Linked DNA regions of Homo sapiens: region 1 is linked to region 2. Evidence: promoter capture Hi-C in 16 types of primary human blood cells and fetal thymus (Javierre and others, 2016). All regions are on one chromosome and are shown on one strand. The core of a region is centred on a gene start or on the middle of the fragment in contact, and the rest is flanking DNA. Distances in the headings are between cores, read along the strand shown.

What was found. Contacts are between HindIII fragments. The CHiCAGO score rates a contact against its expected background, and 5 or more counts as called.
Region 1: a contact is called between a fragment that was not itself captured here and the fragment with the promoter of MMACHC in region 2, in 1 of 17 cell types (naive B cells). The highest score is 5.1, in naive B cells.

Annotation. Positions count from the first base shown.
Region 1 is chr1:45,409,463-45,415,480 of GRCh38, reverse strand. The region is part of intron 3 of TESK2 (testis associated actin remodelling kinase 2); the gene reads left to right. It also overlaps the pseudogene PPIAP36. Among named protein-coding and RNA genes, the nearest start is that of TOE1, 72 kb to the right of the region's middle. The HindIII fragment of the contact is 4,515 bases long and covers 1,600-6,018 here.
Region 2 is chr1:45,498,491-45,504,229 of GRCh38, reverse strand. MMACHC (metabolism of cobalamin associated C) reads right to left here and starts at 3,930. Exons shown (of 4, transcript NM_015506.3): 1 at 3,817-3,930. The coding sequence starts at 3,897. CCDC163 (CCDC163 homolog) reads left to right here and starts at 4,157. Exons shown (of 5, transcript NM_001102601.3): 1 at 4,157-4,698; 2 at 4,787-4,885. The coding sequence starts at 4,621. RefSeq lists enhancers at 3,936-4,135, 3,685-4,217. The HindIII fragment of the contact is 9,755 bases long and covers 2,680-5,739 here.

The sequences.
Region 1 (6,018 bases), core at 2,608-5,107, 89 kb after region 2:
AAACATGGAACCCAAAGGGAACTGCAGCGAAAGCACAAAGATTATGGGATATTGCGAGCAAATGGGGTGGAGGAGTGCTCTCCTGAGCCACAGAAGGAATGGTCTGGTGGTTAAAATAAAACACAAGTCAAATTTATTAGAGTTGTCCACAGTCAGCAATGGTGATCTCCTTGCTGGTCTTGCCATTCCCAGACCCAAAGTGCCCCATGGCCTCCACAATATTCATGCCTTCTTTCACCTTGCCAAAGACCACATGCTTGCCATCCAACCGGACACATAAACCCTGGAATAATTCTGTGAAAGCAGGAACCCTTATAACCAAATCCTTTCTCTCCAGTGGTCAGAGCACAAAAGTTTTCTGTTGTCTTTGGAAACTTGTCTGCAAACAGCTCGAAGGAGACGTGGCCCAAGGGCTCGCTGTTTGACTGTGATGTTGAAGAACATGGTGGGGTTGACCATGGCTGATAGTACGGGGCTCCTGGCGGTGGCAGCAGTGTCCACAAAGCACCTATCTTTTTTTTATTCATTTACTCACTAAACACTTGTTGAGTGCCTACTGTTGCTTTTAATAGATTCAACGGTTTTCTACTAAAGCATTGCTGTCCAATAGAACCTTCTGCAGTGATGGAAATGTTCTATATTTCTGCTGTCCAGTAGCCACATGTGGCTAATAAGCACAGAAATATTGCTAATGCAAACAAGAAATTAAAATTTTATTTGGATTGCTTTAAATTTAAATTGCCACATGAAGCTAGTGCCTACTGTATTTGATAATGCTGGGCTACCTACATCTTTGCCTTTGCTTTGCTACGGGTATATGTATTCCAGCCTAGAAACATGTAGGGTTGTGATGAGACCAACATTACCATTCCTATTCCATATCTCCTTGATGTACTTTCTTAGCTTATCTCCTTTTGATCCTATTGCTTAGGAATGATCCCCACCTCCACCCTCATCCCCCTTAACTTAAAAAAGTAATGTTCTTTGCTCTCAGCCAAGTTTTCTAATGTATGAAAGGTAGCATTCAGTCTATCTAAATCTTCCCAATAAGCCCACAAATGAGATGATATATATAAAGCCTCTGGCACAGGAACTGTCACACTGCAAGTATAATACATGAGAATGTAATTATTGTTAGCCACGTGGGTTTGCCCTCTGATGGTGACCATTTTTGTTCTGCATAAGCCATCTGTCTCAAAGATACTGTGGTTTAAAAGCCTGAAATGGATTACTTTTTAAAAGAAGCTTCTAATTATTTATATCATTTATGTTTTTATGTCTTCACTTTCACTATATATTTTGAAGACAACAAAAGGAAATTATTCTAACCAGTGGCCTAGAGCAAACAAAGTCCTTTTGGCTTTTGTTACCCAGACGAGTATTAATGTAATGGAAACATTTATTATACTTCCCTGTGACTCCTTAAATGCCAAACTAAGCATGACTATGTTTTATTCTCAAGGTTCTTAGAATTTGTATTTTCTAAATGCTTTCTGGTTGTCTTAGCAATTTGCTGTTAATACTTAGGATTTAAATTTTTTGGTTACTATTTGTTAGTATGGCTCTTAGTCTATTTTCAAGCTGTAAACATTATAAGCTTTCTTTTATAGGTGCAGAAGTATGAACCAGAATTTTTCCCCAAATTGAGATTAGATCTACATTGGGAAGAATCCATCTCTTGGAACCCTAGGATTACACAGATGTGCCTTCTCAGGTGCTGGCCCCGGGTATGGGAGGTGGCTGAGTAGATGAGACTTCTGTTCTCTTGGCTTCATCTAGTCAGAACAGTTGCACTTTTTATCTTTTTTATATTGAACTTCTGTATAAGAGTTTTGAAGAAAAGGTCTCTTGCTTAAAAGAAAGAGAGAGAGAGAGAAATGAAGGAAAGAAAGAAAGAAAGAAAAAGAAAAAGAATGAGTTGAAAATTCTTCTGTTAGTGCTTTGGAAAGGCTACTTGGGAAAGAAGCCTATCTGCATGATCTGCCAGGTGGTAGGCATTTAATCCTCTGGGCATACCTTGGTTCTCTTCTGCCAGAGCTATTGTGTGCCCAGCAGGAGTGAGTGAGCTGAACCTTTGTAGTTCTCTTTTTCTTGACCCCAACCTCCTAGTTTCCCTTTTTCCCTTTATCTCCCTTCCTCCTAAGATTTCTATTTGGGAGGAAAAGTGTGGGCCTGGTAAGTCATAGAGGTAGTACTTGTGTAAATTTTGTTCATGTGTGTGTATTCTGTTTATACATGGGCCCAGTGAAGATTGGTTATTTTATCATCAGTTGCTCAAAGTTATCAGTTAAAAAAAGGAACAATAAAGTACTTTGTTGAATGCAGGGACTGATTGTTTAGGTCTCTTGTGAATAAGGTTGTTTACGCCAGGAAGTCTTATGCTCAAGATCTGTAACCCAGTTCTATGCCCCACTCACTTCCACTCCCCAGTGGCCTTTTTGAGGAACTATACACTCAGATTTGTTCTCATACCTCCCCACGACCCCAAGACAGGGCCTCACTCTGTTGCCCAGGCTCACTGCAATCTCTGCCTTCTGGGCTCAAGCAATCCTCCCACCTCAGCCTCCTGAGTAGCTGGGACTGCAGGCGTATGCCGCCACACTTGGCTAACTTTGAAAATTTTTTTGTAGAGAAAGTTCTCACTATATTGCCCAGGCTGGTCTCGAACTCCTGAGCTCAAGCAATCCTCCCACCTCGGCCTCCCAAAATGCTGGGATTATAGGCTTGAGCCACTGCACTGGGTCTCTCTGTTATTTATGCCATGAGAAATTTAATATTTCTTTTAGACTCCTTCAATTCACCAAATATGCCTTCAATTCACCAAATATGAAATTGAAGACTATGCCTTCAATTCACAAATATTTGCTTGGAACTACTCAGTCCCTCCCTGTGCTAGGTAATATCATGATTAATGCAAGAGAAATAGAGGCTTCTTGTCTCCCAGAGAGTCTCCTTAAGAAGTAAATTATACTATGTAGGAAATAGACTAGCATTAGCTAATGCTGTGAGAATATGGCAGGATATTTTCCCAGTCTCAGTTATTAAGACAGCCATCTTTCCAGTTATCCATCCTGAAAAATTCCAGCCATTTTTGGTTATCATGTATTCCTTGCTTCTAATGAGAAGCTAAGCTGTGATTCTAAATATTCAAAGGCTTTTGCATCTATTCCTTCCCGTATATGTGGGCTGTAATTCAGCCTTCTTCACTTTCACCTGGAGTGAATTATTTTCCCTGTCTCTTTGCCCTTTTTCACTCTTCCTGATACTCAGCTCTGGTTGTATAGTTTATTTCTTAAAACTTTTTGTGGCTCACATTGGTTTCAAAATCGAGTCAAAAATTATTTAGACTGACAGTTAAGGTTCAGTCTGTTTTTCCAGCCTTTTCTTCCACTCTTTCTCTTGTACAATTCACACAGCTCCACAATTTCCTAATTATATTCTCTAGGACAAGTTATTTAACCTCTGTGCTTTGATTTCTTCTGTTTAATGAGAATGGACCAGATCAGTTGTTAGAAATCACACTGAGGCAGGGCATGGTGGCTTACACCTATAATCTGAGCACTTGGGAGACTGAGGCGGGAGGATCCATTTGAGCCTAGGAGTAGTGAGCTATGATGGCTTCTTCCTGCCAGCTGCACAGACAAAATCAATTCCCTGAGATCGTGGCATTGCAGTAAGAAAGAGTTTAATTGACTCAAGGCCAGCCATGCCAAAGAGGCAGTTATCACTTAAATCAGTCTTCCTGAAGCCCTCTAGAGGTTAGAGTTTTTATGGACAATTTGGTGGGCAGGGCTGAGGGAATGGGTGCTGCTGATTAATTGGGGGTGTGGAAAAGTCCTTGTGCGCTGAGTGTGCCTCTGTGTAGGGCTACAGCAGGAGTCCTCAACCCCCAGGTTATGGACCGGTATCAGCCTGTGGCCTGTTAGGAACTGGGCCACACAGCAGGAGGTGAACAGGTGAGCAAGCATTGCTGCCTGAGCTCTGCTTCCTGTCAGATCAGCGGTGGCATTATATTTTCATAGAAGCGTGAACCCTGTTGTGAACTGTGCATGCGAGGGATCTTGGTTGCACGTCCCTTATGAGAATCAAATGCCTGATGATCTCAGGTGGAACAGTTTCATCCCAAAACCATCCCTCCACCTGACCCTCACCCGAGTCTGTGGAAAAATTGTCTTCCACAAAACCAGTCCCTGGTGCCAAAAAGGTTGGGGAAGGCTGGGCTACAGGACCAGTTGAGTCATGAGTCATGAGTCTGGGTGGGGTTGGTCTGAAAAAAATCTCTCAGAAAACCAGTCTTAGGTTCTATAATAGTGATGTTATCTATAGGAGCAGTTGGAGAAGTCACAAATCTTGTGATCTCTAGCCACATGACTCCCAAGCAGTAAGAAATTGTAGAACTATACCTACATTTTAGCAGAATTCTCTCCCCTCCCATAATCCTAACCTTGTGGCCTTTCCTTAGTTTTACAAAGGTAGTTTAGTTTTGGGAAGGGCTATTATCATCCTTGCTTTAAGGTTAAACTGTAAACTAAATTCCTCCCAAAGTTAGCTTGGCCTATGCCCAGGAATGACCAAAGACAAACAGCTTGAGGTTGGAGGCAAGATAGAGTTAACGATGTCAGATTTCTCTTTTGCAAAGGTGGTTTCAGTTGTGCCACTGAAACACAGACTGGGTGATATAGTGAGACCATGTATGTTAAAAAAAAAATAAAAAATAAAATAAATAAATATATAAATAAGAAATCACATTGAATTAAATGTTGAACAATTTTTAAATAATCAGGTTTTTAAAATATCTTAAGGGTGAGTGAATGTGGATGTGGAGTGTGTTCCAGAATAAATGGGCAGTGTTTTAAAAAAAAATTTTTTTTTTTTGAGTTGGAGTTTCGCTCTTGTTGCCCAAGCTGGGGTGCAATGGTGCAATCTCAGCTTACTACAACCTCTGCCTCTCAGGTTCAAGTGATTCTCCTGCCTCAGCCTCCCGAGTAGCTGGGATTACAGGCACGCGCCACCATGCCCAGCTAATTTTTTGTATTTTTAGGAGAAACAGGGTTTCACCATGTTAGCCAGGCTGGCCTCGAACTCCTAACCTCAGGTGATCCGTTTGCCTCGGCCTCCCAAAGTACTGGGATTACAGGCGTGAGCCACTGCTCCCAGCCTAAAATGTTTTTTTGCATCTGTTGAAGGTTGAAAAAAAAATAATAAAGTGGATCTCTCTGATTTTATCATTGTAATCCTGGTGGGTAACTAGGTGAAAGACTCTCAAGAGAGTTCACAAAGCATCTTTTGTAACACTAGACTGTAAGGTGATCTTAATTTTTTTTTGAGACAGAGTCTCACTCTGTCACCCAGGCTGGAGTACAGTGGCATGATCTCTGCTCACTGCAACCTCCGCCTCCCAGGTTCTCGTGCTTCAGCCTCCCGAGTAGCTGGGATTACAGGCATGTGTCACCACACCCAGCTAATTTTTGTATTTTTAGTAGAGATAGGATTTCACCATGTTGGCCAGGCTGGTCTCAAACTCCTGGCCTCAAGTGATCTGCCCCCGTTGGCCTCCCAAAGTGCTGGTATTACAGGTGTGAGCCACTGTGTCTTGGCTGAAGATTTTTAATATAAACAATGATTACTAATTATTGAGTACCCATTATGGACCACTATTAATTTCCTGCCGCATTCCCTTTCTTCTTTCCAGACCTCTCCCACCATTCATCCATCACTTGAGCCAAAAACTTACCATTCTTATTATCTTTCTCTTACACCCTATTTCAAACCATCAAGTAGTTCAGCATTATCTTCAAAATATGTCCTGAGTCTTTTTACCTCTACACTTACTACTCTAGCCCAACCATCCTAATTGATCTCTTGTCTTCCCCTTTTACCCCACAATAGCCAGATTGAATTTTAAGAGGGTAAATCAGATTATGTCATTTCCCTGCTGAATTTCCTAATACAGCTTTTTGTCATTCTTCAAAGTTCATACTCTGGGCTTTAACCTATCAGGCCCTAAATGATTTGGCC
Region 2 (5,739 bases), core at 2,681-5,180:
TTGGCGAGGCTGGTCTTGAACTCCTGACCTCAGATGATCCACCCGCCTCCGCCTCCCTAAAGTGCTGGGATTACAGGCTTGAGTCTCCGTGCCCGGCCAGCAAGCCTGTGTTTTTGAGGTTGACCAATCAGCAAAGCAAATATGTGATTAATGCAAACTTTATTTTCAGTTTTAGGACACACAATATTTGCTTTTGTCCACTTGGCCTGGACATCCAAGAAATTGGATTCACCTGTAACACCGTCTACACCCACATTCACACACTGAACATGGAGAAGAGATGTCACAAGAAGCCCAAACCGAAGACCCATAACATAACCTGCAATGAACTTGCTAAATCACGTAGTTGTGGAGGTTTCTGCTGTTCACACAAAGTGCTATGTATATACCGGCATCACTTACTGGGGATTTCTGACTCATAGTGCAGAACACTTGACACAGGTCTACACAGGCTACCTGGGGTTGTGCATTAATGGGACAGAGTGGGATGACCATTACTTGTTTGATTGTAGCTGGTTTTACTGCTGTAACAGATAAGTGAAGTCTGTGTCGGTGCTCAACTAATAATGTGACTGTTGTGGTTAGGTCTGTTCCCCCTCATGTCTATTATAGGTTCATGTATTATATGGCAGGGAACTTAGAATAGAGAGGCAGAAATCTCAGCTACTCAGGAGGCTGAGGCGGGAGAATCGCTTGAACCTGGGAGCCAGAGGTTGCAGTGAGCCAAGATGGTGCCATTGCACTCCAGCCGGGGCAACAGAGTGAGACTCCATCTCAAAAAAAAAAAAAAAAAAAAAAGCAGAGAGTTAGAGAGTTATTATTATTTTTGAGATGGAGTTTCGCTCTTCTTCTTGCCCAGGCTAGACTGCAATGGCGCGATCTCGACTCACCACAACCTCCACCTCCTGGGCTCAAGCGATTCTCCTGCTTCAGCCTCCCGAGTAGCCGGGATTACAGGTGCACACCACCACGCCCACCTAATTTTGTATTTTTAGTAGAGACGGGATTTCACCATGTTAGCCAGGCTGGTCTTGAACCCCTGACCTCCAGTAATTTACCCACCTTGGCCTCCCAAAGTGCTGGGATATAGGTGAGAACCACCACGCCTGGCTGCAGAAAGTTCTAATAGGCAGAACCACTAAGAACAATAGAAATGACTGTACTATAGCTAGTGCAATGACAGGGTCAGATAAGGGTCCTCTGAAATTAGAAAAGGCTTCCTTGTGGCCGGGCATGGTGGCTCATGCCTGTAATTCCAGCACTTTGGGAGGCCAACGCAGGCAGATCACCTGAGGTCGGGAGTTCAAGACCAGCCTGACCAACATGGAGAAACTGTCTCTACTAAAAAAAATACAAAATTAGCCGGGTATGTTGGCACATGCCTGTAATCCTACCTACTCTGGAGGCTGAGGCAGGAGAATCACTTGAACCCGGGAGGCAGAGGTTGTGGTGAGCTGAGATCGCACCATTGCACTCCAGCCTGGGCAACAAGAGCGAAACTCCATCTCAAAAAAAAAAAAAAAGAAAAGAAAAGGCTTCCTTGGATGCTAAGTCTTGAAGGCTAGAAAGTCAACTGGTCAACTGTCAGGTTGATGTAGGGAGGAGAATCTGGTGTGCATTTATTTATTATTTATATTTCACCAAAAAACACATAAACTCACTGGTGTGTATTTTAAAAAGAGGTCACAGACTGAGTGCGGTGACTCATGCCTGTAATCCCAGTGCTTTGGGTGGCTGGCCGAAGCAGGAGGATCACTTGAGGCCAGGAGTTCAAGACCAGCCAGGGCAACAAAGTGAGACCCTGAGTGTTGGTGCATGCCTGGAGTCAGCTACTTGGGAGACTAAAGTGGGAGGATCACTTGAGCCCAGGAGTTTGAGGCTGCAGTGAGCTATGATTGCACCACTGCACTCCGGCCGGGAGGACAGAGTGAGACTTTGTCTCTAAATAAATAAAGAATAAAATAAACAAGTCACAGCATAAGCAAACACACTGGCAGAAAATTCCTGGGTATATTTGAGAATTGTCTAGTTTGGTGGAAGTGAAGGGTCTGTAGAGGGAATCAGAGGGAGAGAAGGCTGGAGAGATCAATAGGAGTGAGATTTTGATTGGCTTTGAATACCAATTTAAGGAATATGGATTTAATTTGGTGACAGTGAAGAGCCACTGAAGATTTAAGGAGTAAACTAGCATGATCATTTTTAGATCACACTGGCTGCAGTGTGGAGGAGGGACTGGAGGTAAAATTACAGCAAGGAGGTTATTACAGTAATCCAAGTGAGAAATGGTGGCCTGGACCACAGCATAGATGGGTGGAATACAAGGGAATGGATTTGGGAGATTCAGTAGACAGTCTTATAGGTCTTGGTGGCTGATTGGATGTGGGGGTAGGGAGGTGAGAGGTAGGAGCCTAGGGTGACTGGCAGGGCTGCAGTTGGCTTTGTTCAGTACAAAAGCTCCTAATACCCAGGTCTACTCAACTTGCCAGATAGGCATTCTCACTCTCCCACACACCTGCCATCCACTGAAACGGTGTCTCAAAGAGTTAAAGGTCGATCTGCAACAAATAGCTTTTGTTTTCTCAAAAACCCAGTGTCATAATATTAGCTTCCAGCACATCAGGCATCAAGCCCTTTTACTTGGTAACACCACACCACTATCTCCACACCTTTACTCAAGCTTTTTCTGATATTTGGGATGTACATAACCCTCCTTCCTTCCAATCTATCTTTTCATATATAGCTCAATTCCATTTTTTCTGGCAAGACCAGTCTCAAGCTAGACCCAACCTACTTCTCCCTCTATATCCTCTCCCAGGACTGCTGTGAGCCACTCAGCAGAAGGAATGGGAAGTGGGTAGTCTCTTAAGCATCAGGCAAAGGGCTCAAGCTGAGCTGATTTAGCTTTGTAACTTAACTGCTCAGTGCACAGGGCACTGATGTGGGGAAATGTAACCGTGTAAATGGGGGTCGGGGTGCGGTGCTGAGACTGCTGTGCCAGGCAAGTGTACAAAGTTTCATTACCCAGCCCAGCACTGATGACTGGAAATATCATGAATTATCCTTCTGTTGGTAGAGGGAACAAACCAGCCAATTGTTTGCCTGTTCATCACCAGGAATGCCCTTCCTTCCTCAGCTGACCTAAATGATAGCTATGCAAACCTTCTAGGCTTTGCCCTCTCCTAAATCCTTTAGGAAGTTCCAAGGTGACTTTGCCTCACAGGTCCCTTTCTTCTTGTAAATTATATAGGTGACAATCTGAGCCACACACGCTACAGGTCATATGGTGTCTCCCGTTAACGAATCCGGCATTATATGGTGGCAAAAGGTTAAACATGCGACAACTTTTTTTTTTTTTTTTTTTTTTGACACGGAGTTTCGCTCTTTGTTGCTCAGGCTGGACTGCAATGGCGCAATCTCGGCTCACTGCAACCTCCGTCTCATGGGTTCAAGCAATTGTCCTGCCTCAGCCTCCCGAGTAGCTGGGATTACAGGCATGCACCACCACGCCCGGCTAATTTTATATTTTTAGTAGAGATGGGGTTTCACCATGTTGGCCAGGCTGGTCTCGAACTCCTCACCTCAGGTGATCCGCCCGCCTCGGCCTCCCAAAGTGCTGGGATTACAGGCGTGAGCCACCATGCCCGGCCTCGACCACTACCTTTTTAACCCAAGCCCCCACTGAAACTCTGTCCCTGTTGTCACATGGACACTGGGCTGCAGGAACCCAGGAGGATCAGAGGCTCCCGAGGCCTCACGCCAGTTGCAACGAAGCCAATCATATATTTCGCCCTAGAACAGCAGGAGGGATAAACTAACCTGGAAGGGGTAAACCTCGAAGCCAAAAGGACATAGCGTGTCCTCGATCTTCTGCTTCAGCTCTGCGACTTTCGGCTCCATAGCGCACGTTACACGCTGAGCTTGCTGGGGAATGAAGTCTCAAGGACAATTGGGCCGTTACGTTTTGAGTCAGCTTCGACTCCATTTCCCAGGTAGGAAATGGGTCCAGTAGCGGGACCATATTGCCTATGCGCGATGCATCTTGGGATGCGTAGTTCGTTTCCTCCTTGGAGACAGCCACACGAAATCAGGAAGACTCAGTTTCCCGGCAAGCTACACGGTGGGGGTGTGCATGTACGTGTCTCTTCTAGAGAAAGGTAGTTCCACCGCCTCCATCGCCGGTTGTGTTCGCAAGAGGCGACCTCAGTTTCCCAGGTGGCGCTGCGGCAGCCAGTCCAAAGTCGGACTTTCAAAACCAACCCGAAGTTTTGAACCCGGCGGCGGCAGTTGTCACTGGCACAGGTTTGGCGTGGTGGCGCCAGTGTACTACTTCTGGGGAGGTCTCAACCAGGTTCTGGCACCTTCAATCCCCACCTGATATCTGCGTATCATCACGGTATCCCGCTTTTCCCCCAGTTCCCCAAGAGCGTCCTTCCTTTCCCTAGTCACAGGATCGCAGTTTTGGTCTGATAGTGCATCCACCTACCCCAGTGTTGCATCCCCACTTCCCTCTTTCCATCTAACGTGGTGGCCTTTCCTGGGGATACCTTGGGTATCCCCCGCTAGGAGAGCAAGCACAAGACACCAGGGAGCCAGACCCCTGCCGCTCCCCTGCCACAGGATATGAATACGAGCCTCAGCTGGTTTGAGCAGCTGGATGTGCTTCTCAACGCTACTGATGGAAATGTGGTCCGGAATAAGGTGAGGGGTTGGTGGAGGTCCCCAGTTTGCGTGGGGAGGCTAAGGGACTCTCAGAGTTCATTGGCCTGTGCATCTGTTTCTTTTGTAGCAGTGGCTGTATCCTCTTGGGGTCTCCACAGAGCTCATTGGCCTGTGCATCTGTTTCTTCTGTAGCAGTGGCTGTATCTTCTTGGGGTCTCCACCGCAGGTAAGTAATGTCTCTTTCTACTTCCAAGCCCTTTCTCTTTCTGTGCCTTCCTCCAGTGCCCGTATCATCCATTATTCCTTCCAAATTCCAACTCTGTCCTTTCCTGAACTCTGTTTCCCCACACAGACCCTGCACTTAACCCTTCCTTATTTCCTCAGCCGGGGACCTGGCTGGGACCTGGATTTCCTCTCATCACTTGCCTCTGCAGTCAGGAGTCCAAGCTCAACAGCCTTGGGCTTTAGAGACTCCCATAGTTCCACAAAGGCTGAGCTGCCCTGAGTCCTAGAGCCCATCCTCTCTCTGGGGTGAGGTTGCTATTCTCTGATCCTAATTTCAATGTCAGGCTCAGGTGAGGCTTGGAATCCTTGGTGTGTATATGTGATGTTTGTGTAAGATGAGGATACTAGGGGTCGGGAAAAGCTGTTATACAGTAGTTCATGTGCTTTTTTCTGCCTGGGGAGGTGACAGGCACTAAGGCAGGCAGTGCAGGGCCTGCTAGAAGAGCGAGAGCAGCAGAAGTACCAGATCAGTGTCCTGGAAGGTATCTGGCCAGTTATTTTCTTCATATACACAGCTTCATATGTATGCACACAATTTTGCCACACACCTGTTGTGTGTGCACATGTGTCTTGTTTTGCAAGTAGAGTATCTAGGGTCTTGTGAAACTCTTAGAGAGGATGATCCCTAACTTGTCCCACTACAGCATCACTAAGGTTGCTGCAGGGGGCCCCAAAGGGGAGTGCTTTTCTCCTGGAGCAATGCCTGGAGGAGCTGAGAAAGGAACTGCAGGGCCTTCAGAGCCAGGTGTGGGAGCAAACCCAAGCCCAAGCCCAAGCCCAGATGCAAACAGGACC